Linked DNA regions of Homo sapiens: region 2 is linked to region 1. The links are contacts of gene promoters, found by promoter capture Hi-C in human tissues and cell types (Jung and others, 2019). All regions are on one chromosome and are shown on one strand. Each heading gives the region's core, a stretch centred on a gene start or on the middle of the fragment in contact. The rest is flanking DNA. Distances are from core to core; before and after follow the strand shown.

What was found. The method cuts DNA at HindIII sites, captures the fragments that hold promoters and counts their contacts. A contact is called where the count stands out against the background at its distance.
Region 2: the fragment with the promoter of INSC here is called in contact with the fragment with the promoter of PSMA1 in region 1 in 1 of the 25 tissues and cell types used here (stomach).

What each region holds. Positions count from the first base shown.
Region 1 is chr11:14,517,644-14,523,706 of GRCh38, reverse strand. It overlaps PSMA1 (proteasome 20S subunit alpha 1), which reads left to right and starts at 3,321. Exons shown (of 10, transcript NM_002786.4): 1 at 3,321-3,410; 2 at 4,666-4,710; 3 at 5,726-5,827; 4 at 5,962-6,063. The coding sequence starts at 3,408. RefSeq lists enhancers at 3,190-3,379, 2,914-3,528. The HindIII fragment of the contact is 15,381 bases long and covers 1-6,063 here.
Region 2 is chr11:15,111,746-15,117,808 of GRCh38, reverse strand. It overlaps INSC (INSC spindle orientation adaptor protein), which reads right to left and starts at 2,886. Exons shown (of 13, transcript NM_001042536.3): 1 at 2,806-2,886. RefSeq lists enhancers at 3,179-3,712, 4,364-4,413. The HindIII fragment of the contact is 4,237 bases long and covers 1,526-5,762 here.

The DNA of each region.
Region 1 (6,063 bases), core at 2,072-4,571:
GAGGCTGAGGTAGGAGGATCACTTGGGCCCAGGAGGTCCAGGCTGAAGTGATTGTGCCATTGCACTCCAGCCTGGGCAACAGAGAAATACCCTGTCTTAAAAAAAAAAAAAAAAAATGTATCCTGAGAGCTGAGGAGCTGAGTATGGTGGCTCACTCCTGTAATTTCAGCACTTTGGGAGGCCAAGGAGGGAGGATCACTTTAAGGCCAGGCATTCATGACCAGCCTGGGCAACATAGTAGGACCCTGTCTCTACAAAAAATTTTAAAATTAGCCAGGTATGGTGGTGTGCACCTGTAGCCCTAGCTACTTGGGAGGCTGAGGCAATAGGATGGCTTGAGCCCAGGAGTTCAAGGTTACAGTGAGCTATGATCATGCCACTGTACTCTAGCCTGGGCTACACAGCTAGACTCTGTCTCTAAAAAAAAAGTTGTTGTTGTTGTTGTTTTTAACGATGTATCTTGAGCCAAATCCCCAAAACACACAAAGAGGAGCTGAAAATCATATAAACCTTTAATAAGCCCTTGGGACTTTCATTCTTAACAAAAAGGTCAACCAAATGCCCCTTCTTTTGGTCTACAAGTAGAGCTTTGATAACAGCCATTCTGAAGAGTACAGACAATTGCTGTGAATAAAGGATGTATCGCAAAGCCCCAGATATTTGCTTAGGAAATAATTATCAGAAGGACAGGTTTGGAGTGATAGATCTATCACTCATTCATTCAACAAATGTTTAGTGAGTGCCTACTATATGCCAGGCTTTGTTTCAGGTACTAGGAATATCTCAGTAAATTTTTAAAAAGTCAAAAAATTATGTTTGGATATTTATGTGATTCCCTGTTGCATATTTACAATGTGTGCTTCAACTTTTATTTAAACTAGATTCAGTGGGTTTCTTTTATTTGTATCCAAAAGGCCCTTTCTATAAAAGTGACACAGTAATAAGAGGTTACCATCCCTAATTACAGGAAGCTCCTACAAGTCAGTAAGAAAATGATTAACACAATAATATGAGGAAAGGAATGAAGTGGCAATCCACTAAAGTAACATAAACAGCCAAGAAATACAACAAAAGATTTTTTTACTAGTAATAAAAAACTATAAATAAAATTAAAAATTAAAGAAACAGGTTTTCTTTTTTGGCCTATCAAATTGATAAAAGTAAAAAGTACTTATAATATCCAGTGTTGGTAAGAATACAGAGAAAACTGACTCTCAGGCAGCGTAGAATATTAAATGGATATAACTTTTTTTGCAACTCAGCCATATTTATCATAACTGTAAATGTAAGTTCCCTTTGACCCCACAATTCTACTTCTATGAATTCTTCATCAGGTAAGGTAATTATGCACACAATAGGTGTGTATGTACAAGAATATTCATTATAGTATTTTTATGATACCAATAACTTGGAAACAATTGAATTGCACACTAATAATTAAGCAAATTATTATATTTCCATACAATAAAATACTATGCGACTATTGAAAATAATATAGACCATTACTTATGGACATATGATAGCTATAACTTTTTAAGTGTATTAATAAAAACAGTATCATCTTATTTTTAAAAATTGTATATTTATTACACATCTGTGTGAGGCATGTGACTAGAGAGATATATATGGAAAGAATTTTCAAAATGTTTATGTAGTATATGACAATTTTTAAATGAGCATTTATTTAATCAGTTAGCACTATTTATAAACACTTAATATGTGCTACGCATTGTGCTAGGTCCTGGAGAAACGAAAGAGAACAATCTATTAATTTAATCTGTTAATTTAGTCCACCAAATCAACAGTGTTTTTCAGAAATACGACAATAACCAGTGTTGATGAATTAGAGAAGGTAACCTCATATACTACTGTTGAGAGTATATGTTGGTAAAACATTTCTGGAGAACAATTTAGTACTTTGTTTTTTGTTTTTTTTTTTTTGAGATGGAGTCGCACTCTGTCGCCCAGGCTGGAGTGCAGTGGCACGATCTCAGCTCACTGCAACCTCCGCCTCCCGGGTTCAAGCGATTCTCCTGCCTCAGCCTCCTGAGGCACGCCACCACGCCCGGCTAATTTTTGTATTTTTAGTAGAGACGGGGTTTTACCATGTTGGCCAGGATGGTCCGATCTCCTGACCTCGTGATCCACCCGCCTCTGCCTTCCAAAGTGTTGGGATTACAAGCGTGAGCCACCGCGCCCGGCTTTTTTTTTTTTTGAAACAGAATCTCTATTGCCCAGGCGGGCTGGAGTGCAACGGCGCGACCATGGCTCACTGCAACCTCGATCTCCCTGGCTCAAGAGATCCTCCCACATCAGCTTCCCGAGTGGCTGGGACCACAGGCCCATGCCAACATGCCCAGCCTTTTTTTTTTATTATTCTTATTCTTATTCTTATTCTTATTATTATTGTAGCGACGAGGTCCCACTGTATTAAAATAATATAGTGATCTCAAACTCCTGGGTTCAAGCGATCCTCCGCCCTCGGCCTCCAATAGCGCTGGGATTACAGGCGTGAGCCACCACACCCAGTCTCTTTTTTACAAAGAATATAAATAGCCGGTGGATGTCAGACTATTTCGTTATGGAAAGATGCTCTCAAAAGACGAAATAGATAAATCGAAAGAAAGTGTCCATTTTTTCTCAGTGGCCTAATCTGTCAGGTACCATGCTTGGTTTTGGGGGCATAGAAAGACATTAGCGCCCTCATGGAGTTCAAAGTCTGGTGGAAGAAATCAATCATAATAACAATGAGGGGTTAACGACAACAGACCCTTGAAAGATAACATCTCCAGGGAATAAGGAAGAGCATTCCAAAGTATTTTGCCAAATGGCAAAAACCGCAGTTACTTTTGCACCAACCTTAATGCAAATAAAAGCATGTACACAAACAAGATACTCGAGGAAGAATACAGCTGACACACAGAAACGGATCGTTATCTTGTGGCTTTCCTGCAGCCTCGTTCCTTTCAGTCACATAACACCCCAAATCTGTGGACGGTTAATGAGAGCTAGTATCACCCAGAGTCACGGCTGTTGACTCGGACGACTTTAGATGCAGCCCGCCAGCGGGAGAAACTGGAGGGAATCCGCCATACACAGGAACCTAGAAGGGCTACGTGACAGGGGCTGCCCCGCAGCTCTCAGCCGCCGGCACTCCCAGCCAGGTTTTCCCGCCAGTCTCAGTTCCTAGATCTTCCGAGGCTCCGCCCGCCGCCGAGCGGTCGGAAAGTTTTAAGGAGGGGGAAGTGTTGCAAGCCTATCGATATCTCTGGAATAGACTGCGCTACCCTGCGCCGCCGCCGTCAAACTCCCGCAGACTTCTCTGTAGATCGCTGAGCGATACTTTCGGCAGCACCTCCTTGATTCTCAGTTTTGCTGGAGGCCGCAACCAGGCCCGCGCCGCCACCATGGTACGTTGAATCCCGATCTCTGGAAGGTTTAGGGCAGAGCTCTGGTGACTGGGGGATGACGAGCCACCTCTCCTGTCATCCTTAGCGTCGCCCGGTGCCACGAGGTATGAGAGCCTCGGCAGACGGCCGGGCTCCGGCAGTGATTCAGCATCTCCGGCCTGGCCGGGCTAGGGGTTATCGGTAGCCAGTGCGGCCTTTCCACCGCTTTCGCTTCCCGGGGAGCCTCCGACACTTCCTCCTCGGTCAGCTAGATGAGTTCGCCCCTCAGGTTCCTTCAGTGGAGTAGATTCTGAGCGGTCCAGAATAGCTCCTAGTGCTGTGTATGGGAGAGGAGAAGACAGAGACTTGACTTGGAGGCCTACCTGTACCACCAGTGCGGACTTGACCCCCAGGTTTGTGTTCCTGGACAGCGTCCGTTTTCCTGGTGGGTCCGTCTATTTATCTCTCGCCTAGACTTCGATTAGAAGAGGCCCTTTTCAATCATTTTGTCCAGTCACCTAGTTGCGGATGAGTAAGCCGAGGCTGAGAGGGGAAGTGATGGAATCAGGGTTACAATATAGGGTTCTGGGTTTCCAGTTCTGTCTGCCATTCTAGCACTCAATCTCACTCCCATGACTATTATTATAATAGTCGTAATAGCCGTAATGGTTCTATCGCTGCAGCTATTTGTGTCCACCTCTAACTTTGTGAGGACATTTTTGTTCATTCAATGTGAATATACAGACAGCACTTGTACAGGCATAACTACAGTGAACATTAAAAAATAAGTCATACATGTCCCTAATCATAAAAACAGAAAGGGACGTTTAGATAAAGAGCTGTGGGAGTATATGTTAGGGGGATTTGGGAAGAAAAGGAGAAGACTTCAAGAAATCGACATTTAAGCTACCTTAAAGAAAAGGAAGACTTTTAACCATTTATTAGGGCCCAATAAAAGGGAGCAGCATAAGCAAAAATAGGCAAGAAAGTTGATTGTGAACTTTAGTAATTGAGCCTAAAGGGGTTGATATGGAGGGTGTTAGAATAAGAGTTTGGAAAAATAGGACCCATTTAGATCTGCTTCTCCCTCTCCCACGAGTTTATGGTAAATGTAGAATTGGCTTACATCTGAGTACAGTAGTAATCTTCCAGTAAGACTGCATGAACAGAGTGCCTTAACATTGAATGGAAATACAAGCATATTTCTTAATGAATGTTAAGAGTTGGGATTTGAAATGTTCTTCTATTAACAGGTATTTTTTTCTTTTACTTTTAGTTTCGAAATCAGTATGACAATGATGTCACTGTTTGGAGCCCCCAGGTAAAATAATGTTTTTAAACCTTTTCTGTGAAGTGGCTTTTTGTGGCTGCAATATATTTAGAAACTTGTGAGAGCGTAGGCTTGGGGAAAATGGAATATAATTATTTTAGACGTTCTTGGAAGTTGCATTTATAATTAAAATAGGTTTCCTGATGGACCTAGAGGACATTATGTTAAGTGAAATAAGCCAGAAACAGAAAGAAAAATGTTTCATGCTCTCACTTATATGTGGAATCTTTTGTTTAAAAGGGCAAATATATATATAGAGAGAGTAAAACAGTGGTTACCAGGGTAGGGGGTGGCAGTGGGGAGGAAAAAAGAGGAGATACAAAGTAGCAAATATGTAGGTTGAGCAAGTGGAAAGATCTAATGTACAACATGAAGACTACAGTTAATAATGCAGGTAGTGTTTTGTATTCAAGATTTTTGTTAAATGAGTAGTTTATAGCCCTTGCCACAGCAGAGGAAAATGGGTAACTATGTGAGACAACGGATGTGTTCATTCTGCGATAGTGACCCTACTATATATGTGTATCTTATAACATCATGTTGCATACGTTAAATATACACAAGAAAATTTATTTTAAAAGAAGCTTTCAGCCGGGTGCAGTGGCTCATGCCTGTAATCCCAGCACTTTGGGAGGCCAAGGAAGGTAGATTGCTTGAGTCTTGGAGTTCAAGACCACCCTGAACAACATGAAACCCGGACTCTACAAGAAATACAAAAATTAGCTGGGCGTGGTGGTGCTTGCCTATAGTCCCAGCTACTGTGGACAGTGAGGTGAGAGGACTGCTTGAGCCTAGGAGGCAGAGGTTGTACTGAGCTGAAGATTGTGCCACTGCACTCCAGCCTGGGTGACAGAGTGAGAACCTGTCTCAAAAAAAAAAAAAGGTCTCTTGATTAAAAAAAAAATCAGTTGAGATTTAACTGTGCTCACCTGATATTTGAAAACCCTAATTTTTAATTTATAAAAGATCTTCTAAGATGTGTGTTTTTTGTTTTTTTTTTCTTTAGGGCAGGATTCATCAAATTGAATATGCAATGGAAGCTGTTAAACAAGGTTCAGCCACAGTTGGTCTGAAATCAAAAACTCATGCAGTTTTGGTTGCATTGAAAGTAAGTACAGTAATAAATATGTCTTCCTCTGTAGAAAACAATGTAAATTTCACCATAGAAAATAAGGTTGTAAACTTATTTTTACATTTGTCTCTTTTTTTTTTTTTTTTACATCTTATAATGTCTCTATTTAGAGGGCGCAATCAGAGCTTGCAGCTCATCAGAAAAAAATTCTCCATGTTGACAACCATATTGGTATCTCAATTGCGGGGCTTACTGCTGATGCTAGACTGTTA
Region 2 (6,063 bases), core at 1,637-4,136, 590 kb before region 1:
AATTAGAGTTCAAAGGTACAGAAGCCAAATTGAGACATATGAGTTGAAAACCAGATGACATATTTGAAATTGAGGATGTCCCAGGAAAATCCAGTGTGATTCCCATCCCCAGAGACCAATAGAATGCTTAATTGCTGGTTTTTCATTTATTTGTTCTGATTTCCTTCAACAAAGGATGTGGAAGTTTACAGTTAAAAATATGTATTCTATAAAGTTGATAAAGCAGAAATTAGAAGTCAAAGCAATGGTTCCAACTAACATAGTTATTACAACAGAGCCATATGATGGACTAAGAGCTTCCCAGCAAGCAGAGTGACAAGGGAAGCACAATGGGAAAATAATTCCTTCCCCTGCCACCTTTATTCTGCTGGACTGACCATAGCCTGCCCTTTTTTAACCATTCCCAAGGGTCAGGTGTAGGATCAGGCCAAAGAGAAGCTAGATCCCAGCATTCCCCTCAAAAAATGGTTGAACCCAACTTGCTCTCCTGCATATTAGAGGAGTTGGTGGGTGAGAGCTTAGTCACCCCTTAGACTAAACCATAAACACTAAGAAAGAAGAAACTCAGGCCAGGCATGGTGGCTCACACCTGTTATCCCAGCAGTATCGGAGGCCTAGGCAGGCAGATCACCTGAGGTCAGGAGTTCAAGACCAGCCTGACCAACATGGAAAAACCCCATCTCTACTAAAAATACAAAAATTAGCTGGGCATGGTGGTGGGGGTCTATAATCCCAGCTACTCAGGGGCTGAGGCAGGAGAATCGCTTGAATCCGGGGGGCAGAGGTTGCAATGAGCTGAGATCATGCCACTGCACTCCAGCCTGGGCGATAGAGCAAGACTCCATCAAAGAAGGAAGGAAAGAAGGAAGGAAGGAAGGAAGGAAGGAGGGAGGGAGGGAGGGAGGGAGGGAGGGAGGGAGGGAGGGAGGGGGAGAGAGAGAGAGAGAGAGAGAGAGAGAGAAAGAAAGAAAGAAAGAAAGAAAGAAAGAAAGAAAGAAAGAAAAGAAAGAAAAGAAAAGAAAGGAAGGAAGAAAAAAAGAAAGAATGGAAGGAAGGAAGGAAGGAAAAGAGAGAAAGAGAAGGAAGGAAGAAAGGAAGGGAAGGAAGGAAGCTCAATACCATCTTTCTAACTTCCCAGCTGAAAGAGCACATTTAGTCTGGGTACCTCACTGAAGTATTCAGAAGAGAATAGCCAGGATGGGACAGGTCTAGAAGCTCTACTAAGAAGAATAACACCACCACTCAGCTGGTATTTTAGGGCACCTACTCTTCCAAGCGCTGTATAGTGTGTGCCCAGTGGTCACCAGGGGGAGGAGGTCATGGAGAAGATTCTGTCCAGAAAAAAAGATAACCACTGGAAGAAAGGAAAGGAGCAGAGCAAATGCCATCCCTCCACCAGCCTGTGGGAGGGAGACTCAAAGTAGGGTTGAACGAAACCAAAGAAGAGAAAGAATCAACCCAGCTCAATTCACTGTCCTCCCTGCCAAATGGTTGCCTTGGGACCCAACCCAGAAAGGTCACTGCTTCTCTGCAGCAAGTGTAATCCAGAGTATAAACTACAGCATGGAGCAAATTATATATGCTGAGCTCCATGTCAGATCCCAGCCTGACCTGGCTTGCCTTCCAAAGGCAGTGTTTGGAAGTTTTCACTTCTAAAAGGGCGAACAGTGCTTCTAAGTCCCAGAGCTAAAGGGACAAGATGCTCTCTGGCTGAGCTCCATGGACAGCCTCAGTTTCAGATTCAATGGAACCCCTCAAAGGCACCACATCACCATCTGCCCTGACCCCCACAGCCAAAGTCCCTGACTTAAAATATTCCCCACTGAGGCCAGTTTCTTGGACCCATTGTCAGAGGTATAATATATAGATTAAAAGGGGCAAAAGTGGGAGGAGGCTAGCGGCTGAGGGTGGGGCCACACCAGGGATACATTTGCGCATATGCATTGAACAAAGTGGGTGCATGTTGCATACATGTCGTTGTCCACAGGTATACATGTTGAAAGTGTGAATGGTTGCATGGCTATCCTGAGAAGAGTGTGTGCAAGACTGGTGCACATGGACAGGAATGTGTGTATGCTGAGCATGTAAGCGTGGGTGCACTGCGAGTGTTTGTGGGTGGCCATGGCCATATGGTCCACTCATCCCCTGGCCTCCTGTCTCTTCTCCTGGTTTAAGAGTGGGGTCTCCCAAGCTGTCTCCCTGACCCTGGTCTAGCCAGATGGGGTTAGTCAGAGCCACATTCACTCCAGTGTTGTGTGAGGGCTCTGAGCTTCTGTCCTTCTCCAAGCCCTGAGAAACCAAAGCTGAATGACCCACAGAGAAGACACCCCAGCTGGGACAAGTCAGGTCACCTTAGAAAGCCTGAGTTCAGATAACACTCCCTAGCCCCAATTTCTGCCTTCCTGGGTTCACACTGGCACATCCACTCATCCACATGTGGACTGGCTCAGCCCACCTGGGGGCCTTCCTGCCACACACACAGGCATTTCCACAGGTACAGACACAGTGCACCCAGGGCAGCAGGTGCCACACAGGCAAATACCTGTGGCCCACTCCAGGCCACCACACACTCTGACACACTCGTTCACCCACACTCGCACCCTGGGGCACATGCTAGAAAATTCCACATGTGGACATCCCATCCAGACACACTCCCTCACACTGGCGCAAGCTCCCCTTCACAAGCACTCCCACTGACACACTTACACCTACTATCCAATTAGTGACAAACCTGCACTGTTCCCAACTAGGCTAGCAGAGGCATCACCAGCCCCCTGAATCCAGCTAGGGGAGCTGTCTACTTACTTAGCGTGCGAGACAGGCTGGTAGTGCGAGCGGCCAGTGGTGGCGGGGCGCAGCTGGAGCTCCAGAGGCCGCGCGCAAAGTGGCCGCTCTGCCGGCCCAGCCCGAGAGGCCGCCCCTGGCCCCCGCCCCACCCCCCGCCCCGTTCTCCCCCGCCCGCCCTCTCCGAGGCGGTCGCAGCCTCCCAAGGACCTTCCACAGCAGCGCGCTCCCTGCCAAGCCTTGGTCCCGCGTCAGCCACGGCTGCCTGCTGTCTCCGCGGGACTACGAGGCTATTTCGGTGCCCCTGGGGGGGGAAACATGGCCCTCCCTCCCATCTGCAGGAGCGCTGGAATGGGGACGCGGTCAGGCCTAATTAGAGACCGGGCTCCCCCGGGCCAGGCGGCAGGCACCAGGGTGATCGCCCGGGAGCCGCGAAGCCGTCCAGGCGGGGTCGCCCACAAGGTGCCCCGCATGCCAACATCTGGAGAGGGGAAGGGAATGTGCCGCGATCGTTTCCCTTGGAGCTGAAACAAAACAAGGAGGGATTTGGGTGCAGTTCACTTGCTAGGAAGGAGGAAGCCACCCAGCTTTGATAGACCCCAAACGCCTAGAATGAGACGGTTTATTCACCGCAGGTGCTTCCCTCTGGAACCTTGCTCACACACACCTAAGTCACCCTCCACATCTTGGACCTGCCAAAAATGACGAGGGGTTGTTGCAGAAACTCCTTCTAACTTCGGCACATAAGATCAGACCCCACCCCCCACCCCCCACCCCCGTCCTGGACTCTGTCAAATAGCTAAATCTAGAGGAACTTGATTCCTACCCAAAAGCTCGGGAATGTGGCATTTTTGACCTGGAAGAAAGCTTCCAGATCATTTCATACAACTCCCCCTCCCCCGCCTCCGCCATCTTGCTATGAGGCTCCCAGAGCCCAGAGAATCTTGACCTATTCTTGGAGGTCCTCAAGCAAAGGCAGCCCCTGGTCTCCCTTGAGCCCTGTTCCAAAGCTTGAACTCTCTTACTGACAGAAAGATCTCCTTGACATCTAACCTAAATCTCTCACATGCAAACTATGTCAATTTGCTCACAATATGTATTCAGGGAGAAGGAGCTCAACTCAGTCCCCATGACAAAACGACCACGCCGAGGTCCCACTGCAGCCTTCTCTTCCTTAATGCTAATAATCTCTATTTCTTTTTTCAGGCTCTGGCTGAAGCTAACTGCTGCTCCCTGGACTCGAACACACACAGTAGCTCTCTGATATTAACTCTCCTCCTCAGCTCTCTGGGGGCCCAGGGCTCAGAAGGTGGCCAAATCATTCCTCTCAGACAAGCCAGCTTCAACTCTACCCTCCAGTCATCCAGAACAGCCTGATTCTACTCCCCAAGTTCCCTGAGAGGGGCCTCAGTTCCTGTTTCAACAAGTGCTGTCTAGGGCTGGGGACAGGGCTTGGTGCCGCCTGGCTGGGCATTACCACTGAAACCACAGTCTTACAGACTGTTTGCAGAATCTTCTCTCTGAGTCTGTTTCCGGTAGGGCAGGTGGTATGATAAGAATAGTCTCAGCCGGGAGTGGTGGCTCACGCCTGTAATCCCAGCTCTTTGGGAGGCCAAGGTGGATAGATCACAAAGTCCGGAGATTAAGTCCATCCTGGCCGACATGGTGAAACCCCATCTCTACTAATAATACAAAAATTAACTGGGCGAGTTGTCATGTGCCTGTTACCCCAGCTACTCAGGAGGCTGAGGCAAGAGAATAGCTTGAACCAATGAGTCGGAGGTTGCAGTGAGCCAGTGAGCCAAGATTGTGCCACTGCACATCAGCCTGGCAACAGAGTGAGATTGCATCAAAAAAGAAAGAGAGAGAGAGAGAGACAGAAAGAAAGAAAGAAAGAAAGAAAGAGAGAGAGAGAAAAGAAAGAAAGAGGAAGGAAGGAAGAAAGGAAGGGAGGGAAGAGAGGGAAGGAAAGGAAGGGAAGGAAAGAAGTCTCCAATTCTTCCTCAAAGAAACCTGTTTTGCATCCTGCCTCTACTACTTTCTAGTGATGAGTCCTTGGACAAATCACTTAACCTCTCTGAGCATCAGTTTTCCCATATGTACATTGGGGAACATAAAAATCTCTGCCCAGCTCATGAGGTTGTTGAAAGTATGAAGTGAGGTCAAGGATGTAAAGCACCTGGAAAACTAAGATATTTTATTATATGCTAGAAATAGAATGAGGCTTAGATCATAAACAGATCGATGTTAGCAAAAAAGCCTCAAAGTTCTTTTATTTCCAGGCCCAAACTCTGTGTCTGGGTTTCAGGGTAAGAGAGGAACAGACTTGGTTTGTTAGATGTTCCCTGGAGGCACTTGGCATAAATGCCCCCCCCCCACTTCCCAATACACACACACACACACACACACACACACACACACACACACACACACTCACATCCACCTTCCCAGATACATACGGCACAGCACAGCCTCCTGGACTCCTGGACTCCCCATAGACCCCAGCCACCTGGACCTTCGCTGGCCGCCTCTCCATTGCCAGGGGGCCGTCTCATGGCTCCAGCCTTGGCTGCAGCGACTCCAAGTCTCCTTACAGAGGCCCCTGTGAACAGCTTCTTTCCCTTTGCCCACCCTTCTGGGCCATGGCCCTGAGAAGGCCTGTGACTCAAGGCAAAGCTTGTCCAAGGCAGTTCAGTACTGAGGCTGCCCAAGGGAGCTCAGAGTTGAAGCTTCCTCCCCCTCGACCCCCTCCCCTCTGTCTGCCTGACTTCTCAATGCTGTGCTGTCCTGCTTAATTCTTAATGGAAATTCCATCCCCGGCGCCGGCCCTAGCTGGCTCAGGGAGTCCAGGCTTGGGCCAACAGCAAACTCCACCAGAGAGACTGGGCCTGTCTGGCTATATAAACACACCTAAACACATATATACATGTGTGTATACACACACCAGCAGCAAGACATGCTCAGAGACATTTACAAACTCAGATATTCTCATCCAGACACATCCAGACACAAAGATAATATACATTCTAATCATTAACATTTATTGCATATACGAGAACTTCATAGGTATCAATTGCTCTAATCCTTAGAACAGTACTAGGTTCTGGTATTATCCCTATTTTACACATGAAGAAACTGAGGCCCAGGGAGGGCCTCAGTAAGTAACTTACCCAAGACATTGATAATAACAGCCTAACACATGAGCACCAGGAACTGTGCTAAGAAGCTTATGTGCATGTTTCATTTTGCTGCCATAGTAACCTTTTATAAAAGTTATTA